Regions from separate parts of the Homo sapiens genome. Here regions 1, 2, 3, 4, 5 and 6 are each linked to region 7. The links are contacts of gene promoters, found by promoter capture Hi-C in blood cells and fetal thymus (Javierre and others, 2016). All regions are on one chromosome and are shown on one strand. Each heading gives the region's core, a stretch centred on a gene start or on the middle of the fragment in contact. The rest is flanking DNA. Distances are from core to core; before and after follow the strand shown.

Region 1 (3,026 bases), core at 141-2,640, 1.6 Mb after region 7:
AATTGCAGAGACCATGTTATTTAAATAAATAGCTGATTATATAGGGTTTATTCTAAGAATAGAAGGAAGTTTAGTATTCTAAATCTGCCAGTTTAAGAAATTAATAAAGGAAGGCCCAGAGCAGTGGCTCACGCCTGTATTCCTAGCACTTTAGGAGGCTGAGGCAGGTGGATCACTTAATGTCAGGAGTTCAAGGCCAGCCTGGCCAATGGCGGCCTATCTTCTTCTGATAATACAAAACTTAGCCAGATGTGGTGGCACGCACCTGTAGTCCCTGTTACTTGGGAAAGTGAGGCAGAAGAATCGCTTGAACCTGGGAGGTAGAGGTTGTAATGAGCTTAGATCAGGGCACTGCACTCCAGCCTGGGAGACAGAGTGAGATTCCATCTCAAAATAAAAACTAAAATAATAAAAAATAAAATAAAATAAAATAAAATAAATAAAATAAAAAAGAGATTAATAAAGAAAAAACATGATCATCTCCAAAGATACTGCGAAAGCATTTAACAAAATATAACACTCTTTAATCATAAACACTTAACAGACTACAATGAGAAGAGAACTTCATAAGGAGGAGCTACAGCGAGTATAACACTTAATGGTGCCGTTTTGGAAGGATTCCCATAGAGGCGGAAGGAAGACAAGTGTGGTGAGAAAGTACTCCTATTCAACACGGCATCACAGGGTTTGGCCAATACCATGAGATAGGAACAGGCAGTCAGAAGAGCAAGGATTCAATAGGAAAAGATGATTATCTTTGAAAATAACATAATTGTCAAGGTAAAAGTTCACAAGAATCTATAAACAATTAGATCAAATAAGAATTGGAATTAGTGGGCATAGGCCAGGCGTTGTGGCTCACGCCTGTAATCCCAGCACTTTGGGAGGCCGAGGCGGGCGGATCACGAGGTCAGGAGATCGAGACCATCCTGGCTAACACGGTGAAACCCCGTCTCTACTAAAAAATACAAAAAAACTTAGTCGGGCGTGGTGACTGTAGTCCCAGCTACTCGGGAAGCTGAGGCAGGAGAATGGCGTGAACCCGGGAGGCAGAGCTTGCAGTGAGCCGAGACTGCGCCACTGTACTCCAGCCTGGGGGACAGAGCGAGACTCCGTTTCAAAAAAAAAAAAAAAAAAATTAAAGTCATATGAAGATTAATATGTAACATCTTCTTCGACTTAAATGTTCATTTTTTTCCTTCTGACTTTAGAAGAAATTAAAATATTTTCATGAGCCTCCAAAAGAACTGCGGACCCTAGACACCGTGCCTGCTGTTTAATGGAGTACGGCACTGCGTGTACCGGAAGATGATTTTTTTAAAAAAAAACTCAATTAGGAAATAATTATTCGCACACATTCATATACATACATACATACACTGAATCCTCACACGAAGAGCCCTACAGGCGTGAGAACAGTAAGGGAGATGCAAGAAAGGTCTCCTTGGAGTTGGGAGGCGTATTTACAGCTACTAGAGAAGGGGGAAGTGCCAGCTCCCCGAGAAGAAAGCAGGAGGATGCTGAGAGACTAAAGCTGAAATTTTCTGCCTGCTTCCTCACTCTTTTCGTTGGTTTCAGCCGTCTGAAAAACCCTTGTGAGAGGAGCAAAAAGGTCAAGGGAAGATTGTTGCCTTGCTCTCAGTCTTCAAAATTTTCGATCCTCCGTTTTTTTTGTTTTGAGACGCAGTCTCGCTCTGTCGCCTAGGCTGGAGTGCAGCGGCGCGATCTCGGTCACTGCAACCTCCGCCTCCCTGGTTCTAGCGATTCTTCTGCCTCAGCCTCCTGAGTAGCTGGGACTACAGGCGCGTGCCACCACACCCGGCTAATTTTTTTGTACTTTTGATAGGGACGGGGTCTCACGGTGTTAGCCAGGATGGTCTCTATCTCCTGAACTCGTGATCCGCCCGCCTCGGCCTCCCAAAGTGCTGGGATTACAGGCGTGAGCCACCGCGCCCGGCCGGTCCTCTGTTTTTAAACTGTAAAGGACTCCAGCGGATTGTTCGAAGTCTCCGATATCCCGCGATCTGGTGGCCGCAGAAGAAAGAGGCCGAGTCGGCGGGGACTGGGAACCACCAGTTAGCGGCCTACGGGCAACCTCCCGGACGCGCGCGCCGGGCCGACGTTAAACGTACGTGACGCCCTATGCGGGAGCCGGATGGGCGTAACGGGGCGGCGGCGTAACGTGTGGCTCTGTGGTTAGGGCACGGAGGGGCGTGGCCGGACGGCCCTATGAGGGGGCCGGCGTTTTTGGCGAGGGTTGATGGGATGACCCTATGAGGGAGCCTGCGTGGAGGGGCACGACCGGCCCCAAGACTCCTTTTCATGGCCGCATAGCCGCACCGGGAGTAGGATGACCGCTGTTATTTTTCAGGACCTCTCATCTTCGGTTTGAAATTCTTTGCTTTTTTCCGGCTTTGTGTGGCTATTTAGTATTAGCATTTTAGGGCAGTTTCATTTCCTTTAAAGTAAAACTCTCCAAAGTGGTCTCCGGACCAGCAGCATCAGCATCACCTGCATAATTTAGAAGTACAAATTATCAGGTCCTACCTCAGATCTAATGCATCAGAAAAGTTTTGTGACTGCTTCAAAACATTGTTTCCCTTAATTCAGATGCTGGAGGAGACCTTTCAAATGGCAGCTTAGCATAAGCTAACCAGTTTTTAACTTCAGGTTCATTACCAAAGCCACATCAGTGCTTAGGCCTTATCCACTCAGACCTCCTTGATGCTGGAAAGTAAAGTGAAAATAGGTAGATAGATGTCTAGAAAGGGGAGGTCTTAGAAGAAAGGTTTGGATCAACAATGAAGGCAGAATTTACAATTCTCCGCAGATTTTATTAATTATAACTTTTTTTTTCAGACGTCCTGCCATCTTCTCATTCAGACTTTTCTTAGCAAAGGTAGTCCATGGCAAGTAATGAATTCCCAGTAACTAGGTCTGTAACAGAAGTAAATTCTGTTTTTATGTTTATAAACTCAAAAAGTAACATGAAGTGCAAACACCTTTAGTTCCTTCCCCTCGGTAAC
Region 2 (2,700 bases), core at 115-2,614, 1.7 Mb after region 7:
ACCACAACATATTTTATTTATTCATTCATCAGCCGATGGACATTGGTTTGTTTCTACTTTATGGCTATTGGGAATAGTGCTGTTATAAACATTTATGTACAAGTTTTTTTGTAGACTTATGTTTTGATTTCTTTTGGTTATATATCTAGAAGTGGGTTTGCTGGGTCATATGGTAACACTGTTTAACCTTTTGAGGAATTGCCACATTCTTTTCCAAAGTAAGCATTTTATCCTCCTATCAGCAGTGTATGAGAGTTCTGATTTCTCTCCATCTTTGCCTGGGTTTTTGAATCAGGGCCCCAGATAGAACAAAAATGTGGTTATTCAGTTGTTCCACCATCACTTGTTGAGAAGACTCTTTTTTCATTGAAGTGTTTTGGCACCCTTATCAAAAATCAATCTACCATAAATGTGAGAGTTTATTTCTGGAGTCTCAATTTTATCCCATTATGCTATAATCTATAATCCTATCTTTTTTTTTTTTTGACAGAGCCTCACTCTATTGCCCAGGTTGGAGTGCAGTGGCCCAATCCCGGCCACTGGCTCCTCCTCCCAGGTTCAAGCAATTCTCCTGCCTCAGCCTCCCAAGCAGCTGGGATTACAGGTACCTGCCACCATGCCTGGTTAATTTTTGTATTTTTAGTAGAGACGGGGTTTCACCATGTTGGTCAGGCTGGTCTGGAACTCCTGACCTCAGGTGATCTGCCCACCTCAGCCTCCCAAAGTGCTGGGATTACAGGCATGAGCCACCACACCCAGACTATAATCCTATCTTTATGTCAGGACTACACTGTCTTGATTACTATAGCTTTTTAGTAAATTGAATTCAAGAAGTTTCTCAACTTCAAATTTGATCTTTTTTTGGAAGACTATATTAGCTATTCTCAGTCTGCTGAATTTCCCTAGGAATTTTAGGATCTATTATCAATGTCTATTCTATTTTTGTATATGTTTTAATATTTTCATAAGAAACTTTTTTCATTTAAACTTTTTTTTTTAAGAAAAATAGTGAAAATCAGAACACTGGGGGTCAGGCGCATTTAACAGGCAGAAGAAGAATAAAAACTTGTCATATAAACAAAAAAGAAATGACCAATCACATTGTGGAAGCCATGGAGTGGTTATAGGTGCCAAAGGCTGCAGAGAAATGGTGTCAGATATACCTGAAAATTGTCCATTGTATTTGGCCATTAAGAGACTTAGAAGACTTAAGCCATAGATTGCTCAGTGAGACCCCGAGGGCAAATGGTCTGAAGGTGAATAGATCATTTCACCTTTAAGAGAGCAGGTAGGAAGCTATAAATCCAAGATTAAAAAGTTGACTGAACTGTTAAGGAAGAAACTCTAATCTTGAGCCACCCTATCCTGGCTCCACCTTCTGCTGCAAGCAAACAGAAATGCTGAAATTCAACACTCACAAAGGCTGGTAAGCTGGAAATGACAAAAATTACTCCTGGGAAAGTCAGATTTAGAATTAGGCCATATTTGTTGGGGTTCAGATTTTCATGTACACTTGGGAAAGGGTTTAGCTTATAGGCACATGCATGAAGGGAACTGGTATAGGGCTGTGTTCATAAGGTCAAGAGTTGAAGGCCAGGCATGGAGGCTCTTGCCTGTAATCCCAGCACTTTGGGAGGCCGAGGCAGGAGGATGGCTTGAGCCCAGGAATTCAAGACCAGCCTGGGAAACATAGGGAGATGCTGTCTTCACAAAACAATTAAAAAATAAAATTAGTCAGGTGTGGTGGCACACACTTGTGGTCCCAGCCACTCAGGAGGTTGGGAAGATCACTTAAGCCTGGGACATTGAGGCTGTAGTCAGCCATGATAGTGCTACTGCACACCAGTCTAGGTGACAGAATGAGACCCTGTCTCCAAAAAAAGAGCTGTATCCACATCCCAGGAAAGTGGTTGAAGATCTACTTTTCTCTGTAAACCTAATAAAGAATAGAGTGACAAATGTGTGTTGTGGAAAGAAATGGGGTGAGAGCTACGTAGATGCAAAACAATACATCCCCACATACCACTTGTTAATCATCCTTTTCCACCCACTTATGGGATGAATTGCATCTCCCCAAAAGATACTCTGTCCTAACCCTCAGTAGCTGTGAACCTGACCTTATCTGGAATACGGTGAGTTCACTGGTTAAGAAGAGATTATAGTGGAATAGGGTGAGTCCTCCAACCAATGACTGGGGTCCTCACAGACACAGAGGGATGATGGCCAGGTAGAGATGGAGGCAGAGATTGGAGTTATGCTGCCACAAACCAAACACAGGAAGCTGCTAGAAGTGGAAACAGGCAAGAAAGAATCCTTCCCCAGAGGCTACAGAGGGATCTTGGCCCTGATAATACCTTGATCTCAACTGGCCTACGTAACTGTGAGAGAATAAATTTCTTTTGTTCTAAGCCACCCAGTTGATAGTACTTTGTTACGGCAGCCCTAAGGAACTTGATATACATTTCTTTTACTGTCATAGAAGTTTTGAATCTTTTAAGTAGGTCTGTACCCTTCCTCCCAGTGTCAACACATGGAATTCCTCTCCTTGTGCCTTGAAAAGTGAAAGGTGTTTGAACTGGTAATGAAAGAAATCTCAGCATGAGGCCAGATGCTGTACCTCACACCTGTAATCTCAGCACTTCGGGAGGATGAGGCGGGCAGATCACTTGAGGTCAGGAGTTCTAGACTACTCTGGCCAAC
Region 3 (2,772 bases), core at 272-2,771, 1.8 Mb after region 7:
CTAAAAGATGTTTCACTTTTCATTTGTCATTGAACTCTTATTTGTAGGTTCCCTTTTGACTTTCCCACAATCTAAGGCTGTTCTCTTTAACACATATTTTCATGAAAACATATATTTGAGCAGAAATTGTTGGGGAGTTGTAATATTACCTTTGTCCCTAAATATGAATCTATAATTATATCAAATATATGGGCAGACAATTTACTTTGCCTTTAATCTCAAGAAAAAAATAGCAATTACTTGGGGTCGGAGAGTAAAATAAGAAGTAGTGAACCTTAAAGTAGCAAACTTTAGAACAGAATAGTTTCAGAGGGGATGAGAAGAGGTGATTTTTCAGCTCATCAACAACAGATCTTATAATAAATTACATGTTCTGGTACTTTTCTTGTCTTTCTGTGTTAAATTTTGCTATTTAAAAAAATAAATTTCAAATACATTGTTCATCTTAAAAGTCAAGAGTGTGTTTTATTAAAGTCAGTTGCTTTATTTGCAACTCAAAAGATATATTTGAGTTCCCAACTGGAGATTGTCCTATATGGTAACTTGCGTAAGGTATGGTTACTGAAAGTAACCTACAATTTTCATGGGCTGAAATTCATTTCTATATTGCAGCGTACAAAAATAAATAAATAAAAAATGCTTGTTTTCTTTGAAAACATATTATCTCAGTGCCTCTAACTGCCAAATCTATTGGCTTTTTTGCAGGCTTAAGGGCTCTCCCTTGTTCCTTTATGATCTCTATCTTGAGGGCCAGACCTCCTGCCTTACACAACTCAGAGGGGGACCTCAGAGCTCTTTAAAAAGAGCCCAATTTCTCGCCTGTAGAGAAGTGAAAAGGATGCCCCACCCCCATCTATGAAAAGAGGGATTTGATAGTTTCAATGTCTTCAAATCAAAGATTTAAGTCTGTAGCCCCCCACCACCCCGGACCCTAGCAAGGCTCATGAACCCCCTCCCATCCCGCCCTAATTGCTTTGGACTGGCCGTGGAATCCTTGTCCCAGTCCACAGTTCCTGTGCGACTGCACGAAGAATTCACAGAGGACCTGTGTTACTTCCCTTGTGAAGAAACAGAATTATCATGAAAATTTAGGTGGAAACCATTTCGCTTTTTTCTTCAAAAATAAGGGAAGCATGTGCCCAACCACCCCTGGGAAAAAGAACCTTCAGGGGCAAAGGAGCGAACAGGTAATTTATAAGAAAAACAGAAAGTGGTCTCTGACTGCCCCAGACTTCCTTCGGAGTTGGGGGAATTGGGGACGCCTGGACGCGTTGTTTTTGTGTTTGTGGAAAAAATAAATGAAGAGCATGAAGCCCGAGGCTTCTGAGATCCTTTCCTGACCAAACCCAAGTGATTTGGTGCGGGGAATTTTAATATTTTTCCCCTTTTGTGAGGTGGAACAAACACAACTTGGGAGCAGCGCAGCGGCTCAGAGCCTGCCAGCCAGGCGGGCGACCAGAGCACCAATCAGAGCGCGCCTGCGCTCTATATATACAGCGGCCCTGCCCAGGCGCTGCTTCATCGGCGCTTTGCCACTTGTACCCGAGTTTTTGATTCTCAACATGTCCGAGACTGCTCCTGCCGCTCCCGCTGCCGCGCCTCCTGCGGAGAAGGCCCCTGTAAAGAAGAAGGCGGCCAAAAAGGCTGGGGGTACGCCTCGTAAGGCGTCTGGTCCCCCGGTGTCAGAGCTCATCACCAAGGCTGTGGCCGCCTCTAAAGAGCGTAGCGGAGTTTCTCTGGCTGCTCTGAAAAAAGCGTTGGCTGCCGCCGGCTATGATGTGGAGAAAAACAACAGCCGTATCAAACTTGGTCTCAAGAGCCTGGTGAGCAAGGGCACTCTGGTGCAAACGAAAGGCACCGGTGCTTCTGGCTCCTTTAAACTCAACAAGAAGGCAGCCTCCGGGGAAGCCAAGCCCAAGGTTAAAAAGGCGGGCGGAACCAAACCTAAGAAGCCAGTTGGGGCAGCCAAGAAGCCCAAGAAGGCGGCTGGCGGCGCAACTCCGAAGAAGAGCGCTAAGAAAACACCGAAGAAAGCGAAGAAGCCGGCCGCGGCCACTGTAACCAAGAAAGTGGCTAAGAGCCCAAAGAAGGCCAAGGTTGCGAAGCCCAAGAAAGCTGCCAAAAGTGCTGCTAAGGCTGTGAAGCCCAAGGCCGCTAAGCCCAAGGTTGTCAAGCCTAAGAAGGCGGCGCCCAAGAAGAAATAGGCGAACGCCTACTTCTAAAACCCAAAAGGCTCTTTTCAGAGCCACCACTGATCTCAATAAAAGAGCTGGATAATTTCTTTACTATCTGCCTTTTCTTGTTCTGCCCTGTTACTTAAGGTTAGTCGTATGGGAGTTACTGAGGTATCAGACGAATTGGGTGACGGGGTTGGAGAGTGGCCGTGGTGAGGTTACAGCATTTAAACCTTTATTGCGGCTTCTAGGTCCCTGACCGGAGGCTTTTCTCGCTGGCGGATGGTTTTGGGATGGCAGTCCCGCCCCAGGCCTGTGAACGGCAGAAAAGACCGCAAAACAAGAGCCAGTTTCTTAGTCTAAAGGGATGTCCGGATTGGACTAAAAAATTTTCAAAAGTCCCGCCCTGCTCCCGGGTTGGTCCGTTCTTCTAGTACATGACTTTCATTCTGTATTTAATTGGATGGTGGAAGACGTTGCTTATTCTGTGTTTTTTGCTTTACTGTGACTTAAAAGTTTTGCCTCTTTTCTCTTTATATTAATGTCTGGGATTTCGGACGCTTTCCATGTTGTTGGTAGTCAAGTTGATGTCTCCTGG
Region 4 (2,855 bases), core at 211-2,710, 1.8 Mb after region 7:
GAACATTCAAATAATCAATGTAGATAATTCAAATAACTAAAAAATGAACAGTTATTAAAATATCAGGATATAAAAGCAAAAAAATCAATAACCTCCATATATACAAAATGGCCAGTTAGAGAAAAAAAAAAGAATAGGCGAGACTTAAAAAGGCTGGGAATCTCCCTGAAAATCTTTGAGAGCCTTGGCCCTGCCCTCAGGGATTTCTCTGGCTTCATGCCCAGATACGGGTACAGTTCCTTGTTTAAAAAAATTTTGCTCCATCAATCAACAAGGGGCTCCTTCCTCAGAGCACAAGGACCTCCATAACACCGGACACTAGATGTCTAAGGGACACCTCTTAAGGAAGTTAGACTTCCAAAGAATGGTGTTTCCTCTGTCCCCAAACTCTGGAACTCACAGCACAACTGCTCCTTGGAGTTCGGTTTCAAATCTACAAGGCTGTCATGGAGGTTGCAGACCAAGTCCGTGGCCTCAGTGTCCGGATGTACGGTGGCCTTGGCACCTGAATGTGAGAACATGACCTCCCTGAAACCACCACAAGTATTGTTTCATGTTATGTATGTTTTTTCTTATCTGAAATTCCTTTTCTTTAAAAATTCAAATTACATATTTTGCAAGCCCCTGAACAAGCTTCATGAGCATTTATTGAACCCACAGCTTTTAAAACCTACTGAACACTTTGCTCTATGTTGTCATTCACTATCCACCAATTATTTAATTATTGATCAATATTGTTTCCTTAGTGTTGGGATCATTTATGCATGTATTTCTTTTATATTGCATATTTTATATTTCTGCATTACAGTTATTACATATTACTTTTGCTACAGTAATAGTTCAAAAGTGTACATCCAAAATTTAGCTGTGAAGTGGATGGACTGAGGCAGAACTGGAGGCAAGAAAATGTCACAGTAATTCTAAAAAAGATGATGTACAATTAGAGCAAGAGAGTAGCACTGAAATTGAAGAAAAATAGATGCGTTTGAGAGAAAATTAGGAGGTAGAATCAACAGATTAGATGTAGGGATGAGAAGGGTCAAAGATGACACTAGGGTTTTTAACTGGAGCAAGTAGGTAGACAGAACATTTCTTCCTGAAAGGGCAGGTCAGATCATGTGTTGTCTCAAAGGGCATGAAGAGTAGAAAGCCTGGGACAGATCCTGAGATGACCAATACCCATGGTGCAGGGAGAGGGAGGGAGATCTGCTAAAAAGACTGCAAATGTCAGGATAGTAGAAAATCATGAGTGTGTGATGTCCTGGAAGTTGAGACAGTATCACATTTGAGAACATTTAAATTGGTAACTCTGACAAAAAGCTGGAGGCCAACTGTGAATGCCCATGAGAGTGAGAAGCTCCCACACTTTTGTGGGCATCAGAAAGCCCACCAGGTTCCTGCAGTGAAGATCTGAGAAGGATCCTCTTGTGGCTTTGGCAGGGAGAGAAGAATTATTATGAAATACACCCCAGAACCTTCTTCAAAACAAAGGCCTACTCTCAAGGGGAAAACATTTTGCCAGAGTCTTATCCCAGCTGGGAGAAGGTAATTCTTCCCACTGCAGCCTCATCTAGGCTTTCTGTCTCACTTAAGGGAAGAAAATTAGTCAACAGGGATCAGAGCTTCATGAAAATAAATTGGAAATGGTGCAGCCAGGAAAGGAGCAAAGGTCTGAGGAGGAGGAGAAGGAGGAAGAGGAGTTGTATCATTATAAATACTTGAGGAAGAGGAGGAGAAGGAGGAGGAGGAGGAGTTGTATCATTATAAACACTTGAGGAAGAGGAGGAGGAGAAGGAGGAGGAGGAGTTGTATCATTATAAACACTTGAGGAAGAGGAGGAGGAGAAGGAGGAGGAGGAGGAGTTGTATCATTATAAACACTTGTGACGGTCCCAGCCCCAAGATATAGGCATGCTAATAAACTGAGGCTTAACACTTTGACTACAGAATGCTGCTTCTCCCTAACACCATCAAGGCTCCAACTGAATAACAATGAATTATGAATGAAAGAGCTGTAAGGAGAGACAAAAGTTAGAATGAGACAAGTATTGTTATCTAGAGATGCCAAGAAGGCAAGGAAGATAACTAAAAAGGCACTCTGGATTTAGAAATAGGAAGTCATTAGTGACCTTGTAAATAATGGAGCCAGAGGAATACCAAGGGCAGAAGCCTCACTATAGTGTGTTGCACCTGTCAGAGGTCAGGAGGTGTAACTGACTCTCCCACAGTGTGGCTTTGGAAGAGAGAAGTCAGCAGCTGCATGGAGATTTGGGAGAGGGAAAGCTTTTTTTTTTTTTTTTTAATTGGAAAAGACTGAGCTATGTGTAAATAGAATAAGACAGGAAGAGTGTAGACACAGGAAAGAGGGCAGACAAAAACAAGTGCACAGTTATCTAAGGGAAACAATGGGATCAAGCTGCAAGTATATAAACTTGTCTTGATAGAAGAATCCTTGATCTGGTTTATTCAGTGTTTGGTCCAAACCCACATCCCTGTTCTGCCTGTCTCTGACTTGCTCTGTGCCCCAGAAGCCCAGCTTCTACAGATAGCATTAGCTGGGCAGCCCTGCCCTCTTGCAACAGCTGGATTTGGCCAGTGATCAGCCCAGCAGGAATGTAGATGGCAAAGGAGAGAGAGGTTAGTGTACTTATTCCCTGCATCACCCCCCTGCTTGGTGGGCAGCTCTTCCTCCACAGTCCCAGCTCTGGCCTAGCTCTGGTTACAGGTTCCCTCCCATTGCCTCTTCAGATTTAAAGGTGTGTCTGTCAGGGTATAACTGGGAGCTAGAAATTGCACTGAAATTGAACAAAGAATTTTATGGGAATGGTTGTTAACTAGTTATAAGAGGACTGAAAA
Region 5 (2,778 bases), core at 1-2,500, 1.8 Mb after region 7:
TGTTCCCTTGGCTCCTACACCATCATGACAATAAAATTTGACTCCACCTCGACCCCCCCCATCCCCCACAAAGAACAACAACCAACACTGGTTAATAAGGTCGGTTGTTTTTTGTTTGTGTTTTTGTTGTTGTTGTTTTTGCTTTCAGGAGCAGAGGTATAATAGGCAAAAGAAAGAGAAAGGAGAATAGTGAATACCTCTTCTGCAGAGAGGGGTGCCTAAGTGGGACTTCCCTGGCTAATAACGTCTTGCTAGAGACCCAACCAGGAGGATAATGGAAGCAATCAAGGCAACCAGAACAACCAGAAGAACCGGTTTATCCTTTTTGTGCCCTCTCCCTAAACTGAGGGAATAAGAATTGGAAAGAAGGCTGCAGAGCAGAGGGTTTGCTCCTGAGGAGCAGTTATTTCTATGGGATCAGAGCTCCTGCAGAACTGGGGAGTTTACTTTTACTATCTCTTCTCCAGGACAGGACCTATCTCAAGAGACATGTTCAGAGTGATTGCAACATAAAGAGTTTGCAGACCCAAGGAGGTAGGGAAGGCAGAAAGAAGATGGGGGAGGCCAGGGATAGGCAACAGAGGAGTGACCAGGAGCGAAAAAGCCTGCCTCTTCTGAGAACCTAGCTGGGCTCTCCCTGTACCCCCGATCCCTCCCCCCCGCCCGCCCCCACACCCCTACTCCTGGGAGCTCCTCTAGGACAGGGGCAGAGTCAGGAGGAAGTTTGAAGAGTGCCTAGAATAAAAAACAGTAATTTAACTACAATTACCGGGTAGGCTGTTTTCCTCTCACAATTTGATCAGTCTCTTGAAGCCACACAGAATTTCTTCTGAAGACGTGTATTCCTTGGCAGGCTATTTCCTCCAGTGATACACCAGGCCCCTCTCTGCTGGGGTCACTGCTCTTCTGGGGAGATGGGGCTCCCCTCCTTCCAAGGCTCCAGGGTTCCTGTCCTGGGCCCCACTCATCTAAGTTCTGAATCTTCTGAGATTTGGTGTAAAGTCTGGTGAAAGAAAGAGCAGGAAAGAGGTGAGAGCTGTAAAACAAAGAAAGTCCTGACCATTTTCAGAGTTGGAGGGGCCCTGCTGTCACGAAATATATTCCCCACCCCACTTGCCATCAGTACACACTCACATATCCACTGAGAAAACCTTAGCCTGGACCTTTTCCGTAACCTTCACTGCTCAGACACTTACATATTCGCTGCTAGTCCCCTCTGTTGCTGCCACTTCCTGGGTCAGGAAGTTAACTCAGACCGGATTAAACTGAGAAGTGAAACTACTGTGGGAGGCGGGGCTCATAAGATTTAGGAGAAAACTAGTGACGTTGTTCATATCATTTGCACTCCGCCTCTCCGGTAAAGGAGGGGGAAACGTAGGAAGAAAATATCCTTCTTTTACAGCAATAAAAAGAAGGAACCAATTAATAACCCTGTAAACTATCATGTGACCCCAACACAGAGTATCTAAAAACAGGAAGCCTGCAGAGGTTCAGTTCACAGACTCTGATTTGAGATCTTTCTACTTTTGCCACCAACTCCCTTGGGAGTCCTTAAGCCTTCCTAGCTGATGTTACTTCTTTTGCTATTTATGGGTTGCTTGTGGTTCTATAACTGCTCTGAAGGGTGTGGTGGAAAAAGGGGTGGTAACAGCAGTAGGACTCATTGGCATCACAAAATTCATCTGAGTCAGCTTTCTATTCTTCTCTGTCCCGTTCTGTGTCTTGTTTTTCTCCTTGCTGTCCTTCTGCAGGACTCAGATCTTCTTCAATAGCGAGGGTCAGCCAGGATAGAAAATGGGAGTCACTAGTGGCCCAGCAGTGAGTGCCCCCAGCTTAGAGCTGTGTGGGATCCCTGGGACCATCACTCTGCTTTGTGCTTTGTGGAGAAAAGGCTGTGGGGTCCAGGGTCAAGTCCTTAATGACTTAGCTCCAGCTTCTCCACTTCAAAATGAAAGGAAAAGTACTATCACCACCCGTTAGAATTATTATTTCATGGGGAAAAAAGATGGATTACTATCTCACAATAAGAGCTTGTCACATTTATAAGTCTCAGGTGTAAGAGGCATTTATGATAACAACATAATAAATGCTGGCTTAAGTAGATGCAGTGGTCCAAGGGAACCAGTAAGGGGAGCTCAGGACACAGGTGGGAGGAGAAATTAAACTTGAATTCTGGGAGCCACTGGCCTGTCTGGGCCCCTGGCCTGCCTGCTGACCCTGATAGCCAATGGAACATGGAGTTTGGCCCAGCTGCAATCCCTCTGGTCCAACTACTCAAAATAAAGGCAAGATTGGGAAACACGTTCCTTTCTTCCTATACCAAGCAGAAGACTCTTCAGCACTGCACCCTCCTGGGTGCTCACAGAGCCTTCTGTTGTTTTGCCACCTACGATTCATCATGCCCTGGCATGATGGTTGCAGACCCCATGCATAGCATGGGACATTCTACTCCTGAGGCAACCAGCACACAGAGAGAGGAGAAAGAATGAGCCCCTGAATCCTTGGTCCCACGATGAGTCCTTGCAGATATCTACAACTTTCATTGTTGTGGATGTGACTCTGTACCCAGGCATGGCTCATTCCAGATCTGTCCTATTGTCAGAGGTGTTCAAACCAGAATGACTCCATTTTGAATGGGGGCTAGGTAAAATAAGGCTGAGACCTACTGGGCTGCATTCCCAGGAAGTTAGGCATTGTAAGTCACAGGATGAAATAGGCAGTTGGCACAAGACACAGGTCATAAAGATCTTGCTGATAAAACAGGTTGCAGTAAAGAAG
Region 6 (3,025 bases), core at 59-2,558, 1.7 Mb after region 7:
GCCACACTAAACTCATTCAGCATCCCAGAAAGGCCTCAGCCTTTGTGAGCAAGCTCTTATCTCCAGGCCTCTCACAAAGACCTGTTCCAGTAGAAGCTCAGGGGAGCACACTGGACATTATTCCAACAACCCTTTCCCCACAGCTATGCAGCCAAATCTGCCAGCTCAGTTAATTAATTAAGCAATTCAGAGATGAGGGTCTGCCCAGGCTGGAGTGCAGTAGCTGCGACCTCAAGCTCCTGGGCTCTAAGTGATCCTCTTCAGTCTACCCAGAAGCTGGGACTGCAGGCATGTGCCACCACACCCAGCTAATTTTTTTTTTTTTCAGTAGGGACCAGGCCAACCTAGTCTTGAACTCCTGGCCTCCAGCCTTCCGAAGTGCTGTAATTACAGGCATGAATCACTGCGCCCAGCCAACCCGCCCAGTCTTGTTAGACATGGGGTCTGTAGTTTCTAGTAGGTTCTTGAGTCTAGGGTTCCTACCTCATGTTTTATAGTTAATTTAGGGGAGGGACTGTGTCTGTTTATCTGGGGATGTAGGGGTGGGCAGGGGGATAGAGGGGACTTCAATTAATGAAACCAGAAGCAAAACTCAGTTGAGGACACCGGTCATGAGAGTGGCCTGATTATGGCCAATCTTACATAATGTGTGAGATCTTGATATTACCCCATCCTTGAGAGTCCTCTATAAAGCTACAGGGACTTGGGAGCACCTTTAATTACAGACAACCCATGTTCCTGTGGATTATGATTTATTAGATTGCACATGCCTAAATAAAGACATCCTCTGCAGTCTTTTGACAATTCTATAAGCATCTTCTGACTCCGCAATTAGACAGCTAAGAGATCTGTGTTACTTCCCTCACATATATAAATAATTTTAAATAAAAATCATGGCGTGAATAATTTCTTTCCTCTACCGATTTGAAGCTATCCATTTGGAAGACCACTCTGAAGAGATGAAATAAGTCTTCTGCCAAAGATTACTTATTAATTTACAAGGAAAAGGGGAAGTTTTGTTCCTCTCCGTGAATTTGATTGAAAATCGAGGGCTTTCTCGAATAGTTTTGGCATCCAGGGTCATTTTTCATTAAAAAGAGAAAAGTCATGTCAAATATGAATTTCCGCAGATTATTCAGCACTAGACCCTGGGAGATTCTGTAAAGAGGGGTTTTGTTATACTCAACTTTTCCGGGTAAAACAAACACAAATACTCCTCCTCCAAGGGGCGGGGGCGGTGCCTAGGTGATGCACCAATCACAGCGCGCCCTACCCTATATAAGGCCCCGAGGCCGCCCGGGTGTTTCATGCTTTTCGCTGGTTATTACATCTTGCGTTTCTCTGTTGTTATGTCTGAAACCGTGCCTGCAGCTTCTGCCAGTGCTGGTGTAGCCGCTATGGAGAAACTTCCAACCAAGAAGCGAGGGAGGAAGCCGGCTGGCTTGATAAGTGCAAGTCGCAAAGTGCCGAACCTCTCTGTGTCCAAGTTGATCACCGAGGCCCTTTCAGTGTCACAGGAACGAGTAGGTATGTCTTTGGTTGCGCTCAAGAAGGCATTGGCCGCTGCTGGCTACGACGTAGAGAAGAATAACAGCCGCATCAAACTGTCCCTCAAGAGCTTAGTGAACAAGGGAATCCTGGTGCAAACCAGGGGTACTGGTGCTTCCGGTTCCTTTAAGCTTAGTAAGAAGGTGATTCCTAAATCTACCAGAAGCAAGGCTAAAAAGTCAGTTTCTGCCAAGACCAAGAAGCTGGTTTTATCCAGGGACTCCAAGTCACCAAAGACTGCTAAAACCAATAAGAGAGCCAAGAAGCCGAGAGCGACAACTCCTAAAACTGTTAGGAGCGGGAGAAAGGCTAAAGGAGCCAAGGGTAAGCAACAGCAGAAGAGCCCAGTGAAGGCAAGGGCTTCGAAGTCAAAATTGACCCAACATCATGAAGTTAATGTTAGAAAGGCCACATCTAAGAAGTAAAGAGCTTTCCGGGAGGCCAATTTGGAAAGAACCCAAAGGCTCTTTTAAGAGCCACCCACATTATTTTAAGATGGCGTAACACTGGAAACAAGTTTCTGTGACAGTTATCTATAGGTTTAAGTTGTGATGCAGCTGAGTTGAAAAGGCTTGAGATTGGAGAATTAATTCAGGCCAGGCTTCAAGACCATCCTGGGCAACATAGCCAGACTACCATCTATACCAGGGGTCCTCATTTCCCCGGCCACCGACCGGTAACCGGTCCCTGTCCATGGCACGTTATGAATTGAGCCGCACAGCTGAGGGGTGAGCGAACATTAACCAACTGAGCTCCACCGCCTGTCAGGTTAGCTGCAGCATTAGATAGATTCTCATAAGCTCAAACTGTATTGTGAATGGCACATGCAAGGGATCTAGGTTTCAGGCTCCTTGTGACAATCTAATGCCTGATGATCTGAGGTTGGAGCAGTTTTAGTCCGGAAATCATTGCTCCCAGCCCCTGCACCCCCTGGTCCGTGGTATAATTGTCTTACACAAAACGGTCTCTTGTGTCAAAAAGGTTGGAGACTACTGGTTTTACAAAAAAGTAAATTAGTCAAGCATGGTTGGCACGCTCCCTTAGTCCCTGCACCCAGGCGTTTAAGGATACAGTGAGCTATGATGGTGCTACCTCACTCCAGCCTGGGTGACAGCGAGTCAGACGTTGTCTCAAAACTTAAAAAAAAAAAAAGTTAAAACAGAAAAAGGGCTTCTTGTCAGAGACTGCCGTATATCTAGAGGTCCAGGAACTAAAAAGTCTGATGTCCAATCCTGAAAAGCTCGATGGTGCACTAGAGGAGGCTTTTACATGTAAGAGCATCTAAGTTCTGGAAATGCCAGTGTCAGGGAAGGGAAGTGGAGAGCAATTTGGCATCCAAACATAACTTGCTGATACTTTTTTTTTTTTTAACACAAGTACTACATTCTAGTCTTTCTGTGGTGTCATTGTAACTATTGTTTCTTAATATGCTATCCACTGACTTCAAGGGATCAATAAATAGGAATCAAGGTGTCCC
Region 7 (2,923 bases), core at 318-2,817:
AATCTAGCATTCTGAATACAAGAATGGATGAGGTAAGGGCTTTCCTGGCCCACAAGAAGCTGATTTGAGCATATCTACCAAGCTGATGTATTTCTTTCATTTGAGATTTTCCATGTGGGTATGTCTCCTTACTATTATATACCCATGCATTCATTCATTTATCCAACAAATACTGATCAAAAGCTCCTACGTTACTGGAGATATGCGAGTAAACAAAAGTTCCTCCTCTCATGAGCCTGTATTTTAGAACACACAAGCAATACATCAGCAAACTCTGGTACAGCATATAGTGACAAATTCTAGGGTGAAAAAAATAGGTGGGGATTATACAGATTTTATTTAGTCATACAAAGCCTCATTGAGAAAGTAACATTTAAGCAAAGACTCAAGTATTTTATCCTGTGCTCAAAAAAACTACCACAGGCTTACCTACAAGGCAGTCTTATTTTGAATACTCCTGACAGTTCAGAGTTTTAGCCACTGTCAGCAGAAGTCAGAGAAAACACTTTCTCTCCCACACGTATTTTTACATGGGGCTTCAAAGGGAATGTTCTCTGGCGGGCTTTCTCCAGAAGACTTTTAAACCTCAAACCATCTGTCATTAACTACATTTAAGTGGTTTAAGCAGGCCCAAAATCCGGCTTGAAAAAATTCAAAGAAAACTTAACACTGCTTAGGAACGGGGGGCGGGGAGAGAACGTTTCACTTTAGCCAGCATGAGCTACATTAACCTGAATTTTTCCAACTTCAGTACAACCTTAGTTTTATTTCTGGCGTGTTGGCAAGAAATATACACACACCACAGTACAGGTTAGCAGAAAATTAGAAGCACCATCCGGTCAAAACCGGGCTGCGGAGATGGGAGAGCAATACACGAAGGAACTTTTGGCTACACTCAATGCTTACGGAAAAATGCCGGACATTATTAGATGTTAAGACTCCCAAAATTAGCATTCAAAAAGGGATAGGCTGAGTCTTACGAAACAGATTGTATAACGTCTGGAAATGGGCCCTATCTACTACAGGCAAAACAAGTACCAGGAAGAATTCCTGAGAGAAACAGATCTTTTCAGCGCGCATGTGGGTGGCTCTGAAAAGAGCCTTTGGGTATGTAATCAGTGAGTCCTTGAGACTCAAGCCCTCTCGCCGCGGATACGACGTGCGAGCTGGATGTCCTTGGGCATGATAGTCACCCGCTTGGCGTGGATGGCGCACAGGTTGGTGTCCTCAAAGAGCCCCACCAGGTAGGCCTCGCATGCCTCTTGCAGCGCCATCACCGCGGAGCTCTGGAAGCGCAAGTCGGTCTTGAAGTCCTGCGCGATCTCACGCACCAGACGCTGAAAAGGCAGCTTTCTGATCAGCAGCTCGGTGGACTTCTGGTAGCGGCGAATCTCGCGGAGAGCCACTGTACCAGGCCGATAGCGATGGGGCTTCTTGACACCGCCGGTGGCCGGAGCGCTCTTCCGAGCCGCCTTGGTGGCCAGCTGCTTGCGCGGAGCCTTGCCGCCGGTGGACTTGCGAGCAGTCTGCTTCGTACGCGCCATGCCTTCAGAGCTAGATTCACTTCAGGAGAAAGAGAAAGCTAGCCGCTTATTTATAGTGAGAGTCTGAAGCTGATTGGACAAAAGTATGCTGAAGGCCTACCCAACAGTAACCGGATTGGCGAAGGACTCAAATTTTTGTTGTTCACCTATTCCTCTGACAGACTTAGCAGTTCATGGTCTCCATATTTTATTTTCTATTTTCGCTATACAGTTGTTCACTATACTAGCGATTTCCAGTGGAAATGAGAGCAATATAAGTAATTTACACTTATCTAGGAGAACATTGTAACAAAACAAGGAAAAATTAATTTTTAATATTTTGCTTAATCCAATATAGCCAACATATTTCAATGTTATCGAAATTAAAATTGTTAGGTATTTTACACTTTTTGGCACTGACTTTTCCAAATGCAATGTGTATTTTATATAAAATTCATGCTATGGAATTTCCAATGATCACTATCCACAATTGGCTAGTGGCTGCAATACTGGACAGGACAGCCTTATACACCTGTCCCCTCAATTTTCTATCTTTTGACCACTTAAATTTAAAAAACTTCTATTTTTATAACCAAGAAAAGCTGGTTCGCATGTGAGAAATTCAAGGCCAAAAAATGTCAAAGAAACAACTTTATGTGAACTTTTCACTTTTAGATTAAAGTAATTCCATTGCAGCTTATTTTTCCAATACTCTAGAAATGTAATTCATTTTCTTTTAAGAATCTATTCCATTCGTACATCCAGATCTGATTCAGATTAAAAACATCAAGTCAGATATTTTAAAAGTGGAATTTACCATGCTGAAACAAATTAAGTCATCTCTGTACTAAGAAATCAATTTGTGTGGCTGGGGGTGGGAAAGCTCGGGAAATTTTAATTTCAATGAATTTTCAGAAAATGCTTCAAAGAGAACTACCTGGCACCATAAGTAACTGTTCTAATTAGTCTAATAATTATTCTCAACTCAATCATTAATGTTCAAATGCAATTAATTATACAGATTCGAGAGATATTTCTCAGAAATGAAGAATCCAAGTCGTTGATCTAGATTTGGATTGAACGTCGAATGCCCGGTTTGTTATTTACCAAGACCCAGAAAACATCTGGCCCCAAAGCAGACATGTTTGCTTCAACAGACTAAAAGTAAAACCCGACGGTGAACCATACAGAATTCAACATACTTGGATAATGCCAGCTTAGGAAAAACTAAATTTTCTTCCACTAAGCTTAAGATGAAGGCGTGTTTAATACTTTTAATGTTATCCAGGCTTTTTATAAAGCTAACGAGATTGTCACTACCTAACCAAGACACCGAAGACTGATCTACGTAACCTTTGGAGTGGTTTAGAAGTAGGCAAAGACGAGAAATTACATTAAAC

Evidence for each region. The method cuts DNA at HindIII sites, captures the fragments that hold promoters and counts their contacts. A CHiCAGO score of 5 or more calls a contact.
Region 1: a contact is called between the fragment with the promoter of H2BC6-AS1 here and the fragment with the promoter of H3C10 in region 7, in 16 of 17 cell types (erythroblasts, total B cells, monocytes and 13 more). The highest score is 25.3, in erythroblasts.
Region 2: a contact is called between a fragment that was not itself captured here and the fragment with the promoter of H3C10 in region 7, in 2 of 17 cell types (neutrophils and monocytes). The highest score is 7.4, in neutrophils.
Region 3: the fragment with the promoter of H1-2 here is called in contact with the fragment with the promoter of H3C10 in region 7 in 17 of 17 cell types (non-activated CD4 T cells, total B cells, neutrophils and 14 more); the score reaches 20.7 in non-activated CD4 T cells.
Region 4: a contact is called between a fragment that was not itself captured here and the fragment with the promoter of H3C10 in region 7, in 2 of 17 cell types (neutrophils and non-activated CD4 T cells). The highest score is 9.5, in neutrophils.
Region 5: the fragment with the promoter of TRIM38 here is called in contact with the fragment with the promoter of H3C10 in region 7 in 8 of 17 cell types (non-activated CD4 T cells, neutrophils, total CD4 T cells and 5 more); the score reaches 15.1 in non-activated CD4 T cells.
Region 6: the fragment with the promoter of H1-6 here is called in contact with the fragment with the promoter of H3C10 in region 7 in 14 of 17 cell types (monocytes, M0 macrophages, total CD4 T cells and 11 more); the score reaches 18.2 in monocytes.

Annotation. Positions count from the first base shown.
Region 1 is chr6:26,171,137-26,174,162 of GRCh38, reverse strand. H2BC6-AS1 (H2BC6 antisense RNA 1) reads left to right here and starts at 1,390. Exons shown (of 3, transcript NR_186648.1): 1 at 1,390-2,128. It also overlaps a transcript of H2BC5 not described here. RefSeq lists an enhancer at 1,424-2,316. The HindIII fragment of the contact is 22,011 bases long and covers 1-3,026 here.
Region 2 is chr6:26,082,311-26,085,010 of GRCh38, reverse strand. No RefSeq gene overlaps it. Among named protein-coding and RNA genes, the nearest start is that of HFE, 3.8 kb to the left of the region's middle. The HindIII fragment of the contact is 4,963 bases long and covers 1-2,700 here.
Region 3 is chr6:26,055,219-26,057,990 of GRCh38, reverse strand. H1-2 (H1.2 linker histone, cluster member) reads left to right here and starts at 1,521. Exons shown (of 1, transcript NM_005319.4): 1 at 1,521-2,251. The coding sequence starts at 1,563. The coding sequence ends at 2,204. RefSeq lists enhancers at 1,469-1,868, 1,959-2,008, 2,419-2,772 and a silencer at 2,499-2,568. The HindIII fragment of the contact is 9,556 bases long and covers 1-2,772 here.
Region 4 is chr6:26,006,021-26,008,875 of GRCh38, reverse strand. No RefSeq gene overlaps it. Among named protein-coding and RNA genes, the nearest start is that of H1-1, 10 kb to the left of the region's middle. The HindIII fragment of the contact is 1,649 bases long and covers 636-2,284 here.
Region 5 is chr6:25,961,274-25,964,051 of GRCh38, reverse strand. It overlaps TRIM38 (tripartite motif containing 38), which reads right to left and starts at 1,250. Exons shown (of 8, transcript NM_006355.5): 1 at 1,197-1,250; 2 at 770-1,003. The HindIII fragment of the contact is 6,907 bases long and covers 1-2,778 here.
Region 6 is chr6:26,106,418-26,109,442 of GRCh38, reverse strand. It overlaps H1-6 (H1.6 linker histone, cluster member), which reads left to right and starts at 1,308. Exons shown (of 1, transcript NM_005323.4): 1 at 1,308-2,031. The coding sequence starts at 1,350. The coding sequence ends at 1,973. The HindIII fragment of the contact is 5,524 bases long and covers 1-1,681 here.
Region 7 is chr6:27,808,695-27,811,617 of GRCh38, reverse strand. H3C10 (H3 clustered histone 10) reads right to left here and starts at 1,567. Exons shown (of 1, transcript NM_003536.3): 1 at 1,082-1,567. The coding sequence starts at 1,544. The coding sequence ends at 1,134. RefSeq lists enhancers at 558-1,229, 1,324-1,613, 1,230-1,901, 2,585-2,923. The HindIII fragment of the contact is 5,605 bases long and covers 1-2,772 here.